2 separate regions of the Homo sapiens genome follow, and region 1 is linked to region 2. The links are contacts of gene promoters, found by promoter capture Hi-C in human tissues and cell types (Jung and others, 2019). All regions are on one chromosome and are shown on one strand. The core of a region is centred on a gene start or on the middle of the fragment in contact, and the rest is flanking DNA. Distances in the headings are between cores, read along the strand shown. Region 1 overlaps NCAPH (non-SMC condensin I complex subunit H). Region 2 holds the start of ANKRD39 (ankyrin repeat domain 39).

Region 1 (5,223 bases), core at 1,431-3,930, 510 kb before region 2:
TAGGGATCTGGATTTAAGTGGCTCTTTTTAGGGCATACCAGGTAGTTACTTGAGTAATATACTAGAAGAAGGTCACAAGAAATAAGTGATCTCATTTTATTGAAGACAGGGCATTTTTAGAACCATATATGGTCTTACGTGAGAAGATACTCAAACACTAAAATTATATTTCCTTGAAAAAGAGAAGGGCCTTATAAAAGCGTTTATATTTTATTTAGGCCAGGTTGTGTAAACATCACCAACTAAGGAACTTCTGATCTGGGAGTCTTTGGAAATGGACTTGCGTGAGAAGCCAAATCTAATAGTTTGGTTTCTCCATAAGTTGCAGATTAAATATGCCTGATGTTTTGAGAGAACTGCGTGTTTTTTGTTTGGTTGGGGTTGGAGTTTTGTTTTTTTTTTTTTTGAAACGAGGCTCACTTTGTCACCCAGGCTGGTATGCAGTGGTGTGATCTGGGCTCACGGCAGCCTCTGGCTCCCAAGTTCAAGTGATCCTCCTGCCTCACCACCCCAAGTAGCTGGGACTACAGGTGTGCATCTCCATGTCTGGCTAATTTTTGTACTGTTTTGTAGAGACGGGGTTTTGTCATGTTGGCCAGGCTGGTCTTGAACTCCTGAGCTCAAGTGATCCGTCTGCCTCAGCCTCCCAAAGCGCTAGGATTACAGGCATGAGCCACCACACCTGGCCTCACATGTTTAAATTACGACAGGTTTTGAAGAACTTGAGTTAGTAAGTTCATCACATGCTTCAAAGCAGCCCTTGCAGTACGCAATTGTATTTCTCCTTTTAGATGGAAGTGCTACTGAAATGGGAACAACCAAAAAGGCTGTAAAGCCAAAGAAGAAGCACTTACACAGAACTATTGAGCAGAACATAAACAACCTCAATGTCTCCGAAGCAGATCGGAAGTGTGAGGTGAGGAACTGTATGCGCAGTGTGGTTTCTGACTAATTCAGAACCTTAGGGGCTGAGACTTGGCAGGGCTAAGGCTGCCTTGCTGGTATGTGCCTGTTTAAGCCTCAAGGGAGTAAAATATTCAACTGATATCTCTGCATTATCATCTTTTAGCTTGACAGTAAAGACTAAAAGTAAGTCCCTCAGTGTTTCAGAATGATTCAAAAGGAAGAGACTGCAAATTGCTGAGAAATCTAATTGATAAAAAATTAATTTTATTTCCTAGTAAATGTAGCAGTGGTTATGTTAGCTAACATTTAATGTACACATAGTGAGCACCATGTGCTTCCTTAAGCCTGTAACCTGTATTAACTCATTTAATCCTCACAACATTCTTGTATCATTTTAGGAAGAGGTAACTGAGGCACAATGACTTGCCTGAAACGACACATCTAGTAAGTGAGCTAGAAGTTGAAGCTAAGTGGTCTAACTCCAGAATCCTAGCTTTAAATCATCTATCTAGCAAATCCTAAGGAATCGGCTTAAACAAATGGTACTGGAGGCCTCATCTATAATTAGCACAGTTAATTTAAAGCAAACAGGTGTTACTACAATTTTATTTTTTAATTCTGCCATTAAAAACATTGTTTCAGTGAACATTCTAATACATATTATCTTTGCACTCGTATGGGAGAATATCTGTAAGAAAATTCTGAGACATGGATTTTAAGTTGCCCTCAAAAAAAGGTACTAATTTACTCTCCCACTAGCAGTAGACTAGATTACTTTTCTCTCTTACCTCCACAACATTCATAAATGGTAATTAAGGTCACAAAACTAGAATTGGTCACCAAGGAAATGAATGTATATGGGAAAAAGACTGGGAGTTCCTTTTCCCCAATCTTAGGAGTTCAGAGAGCTGAAAAAACATCCAGTAGGTAGGAGGAAAACCAGAAGAGCGTGGTATCCAAATGAGAAAATATTTCAGGGAGTGGGGAATGATCAACCATGCCAAATGTGGCAACCTGAGGCCACTAATGAGCTTGGAGTGGGGGCCCCTCTGAAACTCAAGCTCAGACCTCCAGGGAAGGGCTTGGCTGGTGCTAGTGTCCCTGAGTTTGAGGGAGGGGATTGTGTGCCCAGGACCCAGACCCTGGAACGGGGGCATGCTGGCTGGTGCTGGTGTCTCAATAAGGCTGGTTCTGTGAGTGTGAAAATCTGCCAGTGGGGTTCAGCTGCTGCTACAGGTGGGCTCTGCTGCAGCCGGGGTGGAACACTGCTGGGTGACGCTCTCCTAACATGCAACCTGCAGAAAGGAGCAGTGCCTTCTCTCCCTTGGAGCCTGTAGTCTCCCTCTAGTGCCCCTACTTGGTAAACCCTAACAGGGAGCTGCCGGCAAAGCTGAATGTCCCAGACCCTGCATCACAGCCAAGGAGAGAGGGTAGGCTTAGAGCTGAGAGGCAGTAGCTTAGTAACTGGGACATGGTGAAGTGTCATGAGGATTACTGACAAAAGACTCTGGGGTGGGGAGAGAGATATATATAGAGAGAGTAAATGAAAACAAATATGCAAAATGCTACCCATTGGGTAATCTGAGTAGAAGCTTTACAGAGATTCGTATTACTGTTTCAACATTCTTGTGGATCTGAAATTTTTTTTATGATAAATGGGAGGAAAGGACTGAAAACACTTGAATATAGGTAGTTGTTTTGAAGAGTTTTGCTATAATTTGGAGCAGAGTACTGGGATAGCAAATGGAGGGAAAAGTAAGGCCAAGAGTTTTGATTTTGTTTTTGAATGGGAGAAATGACAGCATATTTTGTTGATGACAGCAGTCTAGTTTGGAGAAGGGATTATTGATGATGCAGCAGAAAGGAGAATTGCCAGGCTGATGTCCTTGCGCAGGTGAGAGGTAGGGAATGGACAGCACAGGTTGGGCTCGGCTGACGGGTGTTGTTTGGGTGCACTCATGGGGGAGCCTTCTGGATACTGTCTTAAAACAGGAAGCCAGGTCATCAGCTTACAGTGAGGATAGGGAAGGAAGGCACTGGGGGCGTGAGGAGGGGAAAGGGTAGGAAAGAGTCCTCTAGGAGGTGGGCGAGTACATGAACTAGGGAGATATGGTGTGACTGTTAGACAACTTAGGGTCTACTTGAGGGTGGTGGCAGATGGATATAAAGTGAGGTCAGTCAGCATTATTTTGTGTCTCTGTCCAGCCGTGAATAGCTGTGTGGGTACAATCATGGAGTAGGCAGAAAGTTGGGTTTAATATGGGATCCTGTTGAGCTGAGTGAATGGACACAGCTGGAAAGGGACACTGGAGGAGGTGAGTGCATGTGTAAAGGTGTGGTTGCATTCACTGCTTAGGGAATTTTACCTCGGAAGACAGGGGAATGAGGGCAGTGGAAAGTAATATAATCAGTAGATTGTAGGCCTGGTGGGGTCAAAGACTTCGTGGTGTTGGGGACAAGAAGGGGTGAGCTGGAAATGTAGGAGGTGGTTGCCAGAGAGGGGCCCTAGAATTGAGGATATAGAGAGGTTGCAGTCATGGTTAATGAGTCAACTCAGAGCAGGCAAGGGAGCAAATGGCGGAGGCGGGGTAGGGGTCTTACTAGGCTGTCTTGGTGTCTTACTTGGCTGTCTTGGAGTCCTGGGTTTCTTAGGATGGAGACCATTGAAGGAGAGGATATCAACCAAGAGACAGTGTACTGGATGGATCAACATATGGATATTGAAATCAATAAGAGCTACACCAGGAATAAATTTGGAGACTAGTAATGAGCCATAAACTAATACTAAGATCTTCTGAGAAGAAGGACAGGTTGTGACCTGGGGATTGGAAGATGACTGCAACACAGATGGGCAGACAGTGGCAAAAGCTGATGTTGTACTCAGAGCTGGGGCATTAGAAATTGGGAGGGGGGATAGTTGGATGCTGCAATCACCTGGCCCACCTGTAGGCCACTGGTTTGACGGCTGTGAAGAGAAAGCAGCCACTGCAGAGGCCCGCAGGGGAAGCCTATCCTCAGGCTGGCACCATGTCTCAATTGGAGCAGTGCCCCTCAGCCTGTTTTTTTTTTTTTTTTATCACTTTTGCCCCTTCAGACCCATTTAGACATTTTGTGCCTACTCCTTCCCCTTAAAATGAAATACTAAGGAATAAGATTTTGTCAGATAGGGTAGAGATTTGGATAGGCAAACATTATTGTAATATCTAAGATTTTTCCCACCTAGCCTCTAGGAAACAGTTTTCACCCCTTGAGAGTGAAATGAGAACACCATTGAGAATACATAAATTAGAACAAGTAGGTGGAGATAATCCTCAGGAACTAAGTGGGCGATAGAGAGAATTTTGCTGATGACTGAGTCTAGAGGGCCCTGAGGAAATACCAGTTTTTGAGGAGGAGTGGGAGATGGGGGCTGTGGTGGGGTGGGAGGTGGCATCAGAGTTCTATAGATCTTAGAGTCCAAGAAATGTAGAATTGTGGGTGTCTTGGGTCTTTTTGTGTAATTAATAAATAAGCCAGATAAAGGGCAACAGTGAGATGAATGCCAGTGTTCTTACAGCAGATGGTAGTGGTAAGACTGAGTGTGCAAGGGGCTAGGGAGGTGGGGCCTTGCCATGCCCACTCTGAGTGGTGAGGTGAGCAGGGCATTGCTGTGCACGGGCAGGGAGGGGCCAGAGGAAGGAGAGTCACTGAGAATGAGGCCTAAGAGGGAGGGGAGAGGCGAGAGCAGCTGGCTCTTGTGGGGAGAGGGAGTTGTATTTTTTCCTTATGTGTGTGTCAGCATTAACCGTGGGTGATGTGTGTAGCATATCACCATGTTTAAAGACCTTGACGTAGGCCGGGTGCGGTGCTTAGCTGTTGACCTGGGAAGAGTTGTGAATCTCACTGTCATATACTATAAAAAATGGGGAACGCTGGCCCCAACCACATCTCGGTTTTATATTAGTGAATCCATTTATGCCAAGGTCTCTCTCTTTTTTTTTTTTTTTTTGAGATGGAGTCTTGCTCCGTCGCCCAGGCTGGAGTGCAGTGGCGCTATCTCAGCTCACTGCAAGCTCCACCTCCCGGGTTCACGCCATTCTCCTGCCTCAGCCTCCAGAGTAGCTGGGACTACAGGCACCCGCCACCATGCCCGGCTAATTTTTTGTATTTTTAGGAGAGACGGGGTTTCACCGTGTTAGCCAGGATGGTCTTGATCTTCTGACCTTGTGATCCGCCGCCCGCCTCGGCCTCCCAAAGTGCTGGGATTACAGGTGTGAGTCACCGCACCTGGCCTATGTCAAGGTCTTTAAACATGGTGATATGCTACACACATCTGAA
Region 2 (5,631 bases), core at 202-2,701:
ACTTACGGGCCGGATGATTATTGTAGCGAGCTGTCCTGTGCATTGTACCATGTATACAGCATCTCTCATCTCTACCTACTACACGCCTGTAGCACCCTCCTGATTGTGACAACCCAAAATGTCTCCAGATATTCAAAGTCCCTTAAAGGGCAGAACTGCCCCCAGTTGAGAACTGGGGTGTTTAGGGAGGGTCTCTGAGGAGATGACATTGGAGCTGGGATCTGAAGAAAAGCATCAGCTAGCTTAACGGTTGTAGGAAGTTCATTCTAAGGAGATGGGACAGCAAGTCCAACGGCCTTAACTCAGGAAAAGGTCTTGCATATTTGAGACACCAAAACAAGACCAGTGTGGCTGCGGCGTAGTGATTGGGGGAAGAAAAGCATGAGAAATAAAATGAGGAGGAGAAGTAGAACCGGCAGGGGTGGGTCTACAGAGCTTTGTAGGCCATAACAGGGAATGATGTGATTTCTAATTTTCAAAAAGCCGCTCTGGCTGCTATGTGAGAGTAGAAAACCCTGTAGGAAGGCAAGCGTGGAAGCAGAAAGACCCTCTGAGGCAACCACTTCAGCAGTGCAGAGGACAGCGGTAGGAGGGGCGGAGGGAAGTAGGCAGGTGCCAGAACCACGGTAAAGGAAGAGTTCCATGAGAATGCTTACACAGCAGTGGCAATCGAGGGCTGCATCCGCAAGGGCAGATGACACAGCACAGTGGTTCCCAACGCTCACAAGAAGCACCCTGGTTTCCCGCCTTCCTCTGTTCCTATTGGCACCATAATCTCTGTATAATCTGGGCCAAACGTGTTACCTCTCTGGGTCCCACAGATGAGATACTGTGCCCTGCCTCGAAGGCTGCCCGTGCGAAGCTCTTGCCATCTTTAAAGCATGCAGGCTGCCTGGCACCCGGGGCTAAACAAAGGCCACTGCTCTCCTTCACCGCGCAGCCCCCAGGCCTGCAGCTCCATGCCCCTCAGGTTGGGTGCAATGCCCCTGGTGCAGATTCTGCTCCCCGGGCCCTCTCTCAAACACCTGAGCAGGCTTGTGTCTCCCAGGGGAGGTCGTCCCCCGCTACTCGGGAGGGTTACGGAAACCAGTGCTTCCGCTTCCCCGCCGCCCGCGGGACAGGTGTCTCCTGGCCGAGCTCGTGCGGGGCCCTGGGAGGCTCTCAGTACACGGGAACCGTGGGTCCCGCCCGCCTTCCCGCACCAGGCCCCAAGCCCCAAGCCCCAAGCTCTCGGGGCCCCGTTCATCCGCCTCTCCTTGGCCCCACGCCTCCTCCTTGGGCCGGGGCCTGGTGAGAACCACGAGGGCCGCGCGGCAGCCTCACCCCTCTCGAAGTCCATCTCCTCCAGCGTCTGCTGTACGCCGAGCACCGCGCTGGGATGCGAGCAGCAGGGCCCGTCCGCGCAGGGCCGAGGCGTCGCCATCCCGGCCCCGGCGTCAGTCGATCCGCCCCGGGTCTCAGGCTCAGCCTCGGCGGGAGGGGCGGACGCAGGGCCCGCCCCGCGTCCCTGATCTGGCCGCTCGGCGTCCGCGGCTGTCGCCCTAGTCCCGCCTTCTCGCCAAAGCTGACCAATCAAACGCCTAGGCCTTAGCTCGAGAACCAATTGCAACGGTAGGGCGGGGCTTGTTGCGCCCGGCCGTGCCCCGAGGCCTCCGCGCGAGGGCGTCCAAGGCCAAGCGAGGACTGAGGCGCTGGGTTCCGGGAGCCGCGCGCCGCTGGAGGGCCGCCGGGCCGCCTGGCCTTGCAGGGTGTGGGGATGAGGCAGCTGGGTCCGGTCGGGAGCTTTCCCGTTACCTTCGCCATGACCCAGCCGTCCAGCGACCTCGCAGCCTCCTCTCTTTACCGCCCCTAGTCCCTAGGGCAGGGAGGCGCCACGCGCTCCGCGGTCTTTTTTTTTTTTTTTTTTTTTTTTGAGACGGAGTCTCGCTGTCACCCAGACTTGTGTGCAGTGGCGCGATCTCGGCTCACTGCAACCTCCGCCTCCCGGGTTCAAGCGATTCTCCTGCGTCAGACTCCTGAGTAGCTGGGACTACAGGCGCCCGCCACCACGCCCGGCTAATTTTTTGTATTTTTTAGTAGAGACGGGGTTTCGCCAGGATGGTCTCGATCTCTTGACCTCGTGATCCGCTCACCTTGGCCTCCCAAAGTGCTGGGATTACAGGCGTGAGCCATCGGGCCGGGGCGCGCTCCACGGTTTTTAGCCCCTCTTCCTGGCACCACCCCGGACCAAGGCCGACCGCCCCCGGGGCAGCGGCAAAGTGACGGCTGGAAAGGCCTCGAGACGCCCCTCCCCGTACCCTGCTCTTCCTTACAAGTCCAGCAAGGGGCAGGTGGCCACAACTTGTCCTGCCTGTAGCTCCACCTCAGGGCAGGGGCAGGGCCTTGGTTTGTGCAGAACCCCCTGGCCCCACAGTGGGCGCTGAGTTTACGGAATCGGTCTTCATGATCAAAACCCACCGGGAGGCCGTCTGCGGACCGCGCACCTTCGCAGCGTGCTCCTCAGCGGACCCCAGCCTTCTCAATTCCCAGTTAAAACCCAGGCAGCTGCCTGCTCAAGCCACGATCAAGTGTACAGGGGAGACCGCCTGATCGGCTTAGAAAGAGTGCATGAACGACAGAATGCAGGTTGGGTTCTGTGCCAGTCCCTCTCCAGGACAGTGGTCTGGTGCACACTGGATGTAAGTTCCTTCCCCCGCTAGTTGGGGCACGGAAGACCCTAGCATTCCTGGTGGGTAGAAGGCTGGAAGTCGTTTCTCCTCCCCTAAGCAGGTTGAGAACCCCATCCTCACACAAGCAATGATCTCATCTCCACAACCTTCCACTCCTTTGGCCCCTCATTCCCACTACCCGTCTTGAGTTCTGGGAAGGCACCCCCCCCACCACTCCGCTTCTCCCCTGGACTCCCAGTGCCCTGACTTCTCCTTCTGGCCAGAAGCCAAGGCTGGCTCCCAAGGGGCTATGGCCATGGTCTCGTTCCCAGCCCCGCAGCCACCACTGTGGGAAAACACTAGAGCTGGGCTGTCCCCTCCCACAGGCAGGCAGGGACCACAAAAGTGGTGGCTGCCCTGGGATTGTGGGGGAGGCCCAGTCCAGCCTCCCTCCACCCAGAGAGCCTTCCCTCTTGGTACCCAGAAAGGCTTTAGCCCAAACATCTTAGCCCCATCAGAGCAATCGTTTCATTTTCTCCATTTTATTTGTCAATATAAAAATACTCAAATATTTACAACAAATAAATACGCGGGGACACAATAAGTTACACTGTTAGGAGCCCTCCTCCTAGGGCTGGAAGAGAGTATGCCATTGTCCACAGCAGGCCCACCCTCTCCCTTCTCTCCCCTCACACAGCCTTTCCCAGCCCTGTACAGGAAGAAGGCAAGTATAAAATACCACTGAACCCCGGGGCCAAGTGGGAGGCCCCACCCACCCTTCCCCCCAAACACACAGGAGGCTCCATCTCCCTCCCCCCACCCTGAAAACATTCACAGCCCTAGGAGCAGGACTAGGCCCACCCCAAGCCCTGCACTCCCTCTGAAGGGGCACAGCACCCTGTCCACCCCACCTCCATATGTACATCGCTGCCCGACACTCGGGGCAGTGGGGGTAGGAGAGACAAAGTGATACGACCCCTTCCCCTTCATAGCTCCAATGACTCACCAGGAGGACCCAGGCCAAGGGAAGACTTGACAGAAACAGGAAGGCTATGCCACAAGCGCGCACGCGCGTGCACACACACATACACACACACACAAACACATGTGCAAATACAGACAAACACACATCTTGAAACTTCTGCCTTGAAAAGTTTTGGCGGCTGGGGTCCCGCGTGTCTGTGATTCACAGAGAGGAGGAAGATGCCTTCTGCGAGGCTGGTGCCCTGGTGAGCCACACCAAGTGGCAGTGCCCGTGCTGAGCAGAGCAGGTCCTCATGGCCGGGTGGGTGCTGGGCAGTATCTGTCCCAGACAGAGCAGGTGCCCGTGCCATGTCCCTGAGGTAGCTGGTGCCTGTGCAAAAGTAGGAGCTACACCTCCCACGCTTCCCGCCGACGCGGTGGGGGTTCCCCTCATACTGATGACTCCTCGGGGTTGGAGTCGGGCAGTGGCTGGCGTTGCTGCAGTTTGCGTCTCAGTTCATCCGCGAGCTCAGGCAGGGGGTGCCCGAGCCCTCCCCGGTCCTCCCCTCCTAGTTGTAAGCGCACGTAACCATTGGCATTTGAGTTCCGCCCACCCCCCAGGTGAAGCCGAGTTGGAGAAGGCAGAGGCTGGCCTGGGATGCCTGGAGGTGGCGAAGGGGGCCCCCCACCGGGCTGGCACCGGGCATGCCCAGGTACTATCTTAAGGGAGCCATCTGAATAGTAGTAACCGACAGGATCCCAAAGTTTCTCATCTGGTTCAGGACAGGGCCGGAAGGGGGGACTGGTGGGCTCCTTGGGCAGCTCCAGGGGGTACACCAAGGTCCTCTCAGTAGCCTTGGCCCCTTTCTCCAGCTCTTCCCGCAGCCGCCGGCGCAATGACAGCACCAGCAGCAGCAGCACCAGGCACACAGCCCCCAGGGCCACCACCGCCAGCCACACCAGCCCCAGGTTTTCCAGGGGGGCCCGGGCCTCCAAGGTCACCGACGGGCCTGCCACGACAGCCACAAGGTAGCCTTCAGCAGCCAGCCGCGCCCCCTGCTCCTCTGAAAAGCAGTGGTAGGCCCCGGCATGGCGGGGCTGGGCAGCCATCACAACCAGGGCCTGGAGCCGGGCATCGTAGAGGAAGGACCCGGGCTGTTCCGCAGGCAGGTCCCGGCCCCCAAAGGTCCAGCGGGCATGGGCCAAGTTGGAGGAGAGGTGGCAGGGCAGCACCAGGTCTGTGCCCGCCACCACCGTGATGTTTTTGGGAGTGGGCCTGACTGTAGTGGCAGAGAAAACAGAGTGCATGTTAGTGCAGGAAAGCAGGGCTGGGGAAGAGGAGAACAGAAACTCCAGCTCTGGTCCAGGGCTCAGCCCGATGCGACGGGAATGAAAAAGCTCACCTTTCTTACTGCCACGGAGGTTGCAGATGCCTGAAGTGTCCGAGGTCATCACATGCTGGATCAGTAGAGATCTGGTAGGGGATGTAGGGTACATCAGCAGCCTGGCTCCAACCACCCTGAGTCCCTGGAGGTCCTGGCCTATGTAGAGCCCAACTCACCCAGAGTGGCCACCCACGGCCACACAGCGGCTGGTGTTGACGCTCCAGGCGCAATAGGGGTCCCGGGCGAGGACACAGTCTGCACAGGAGCGATACTTCATGCAGTCGGCCACGGGCAGCTGCACCAGCTGAGAGCGGGAGCCGGCAAAGAGCAGCTTCTGCGAGAAAAGCGGGGCGCAGGAGGGGGGTCGGCCAGGGCCACACCACGGGAGGGGCGGCCGGACCAGAACGCAGCATGGGGACAGCTTGGACTCCTGCAGGGGGCACAGCACGGGGCGCCAGAAGGAGGAACAAGGGAACAAGGCAGAGCTATAGTGCTGAAAAGGGAACTCTAAGAACCGCAGAACTCAGAGGGCTTACACAGGCCAGATGCAATCCTAAGCCCCTTATCGACGTGACGTTATTAGAAAGGGATGATGGGGCTGTGAGGCCAAAAAGTATAATCACACACACTCACAC

What was found. The method cuts DNA at HindIII sites, captures the fragments that hold promoters and counts their contacts. A contact is called where the count stands out against the background at its distance.
Region 1: a contact is called between a fragment that was not itself captured here and the fragment with the promoter of ANKRD39 in region 2, in 1 of the 25 tissues and cell types used here (dorsolateral prefrontal cortex).

The regions. Positions count from the first base shown.
Region 1 is chr2:96,343,314-96,348,536 of GRCh38, forward strand. It overlaps NCAPH (non-SMC condensin I complex subunit H), which reads left to right. Exons shown (of 18, transcript NM_015341.5): 6 at 792-916. Among named protein-coding and RNA genes, the nearest start is that of NCAPH, 10 kb to the left of the region's middle. The HindIII fragment of the contact is 3,084 bases long and covers 1,139-4,222 here.
Region 2 is chr2:96,856,565-96,862,195 of GRCh38, forward strand. ANKRD39 (ankyrin repeat domain 39) reads right to left here and starts at 1,452. Exons shown (of 4, transcript NM_016466.6): 1 at 1,324-1,452. The coding sequence starts at 1,423. It overlaps SEMA4C (semaphorin 4C), which reads right to left. Exons shown (of 15, transcript NM_017789.5): 13 at 5,173-5,330; 14 at 5,015-5,085; 15 at 3,154-4,891. The coding sequence ends at 4,062. RefSeq lists silencers at 1,113-1,282, 1,313-1,982. The HindIII fragment of the contact is 43,475 bases long and covers 1-5,631 here.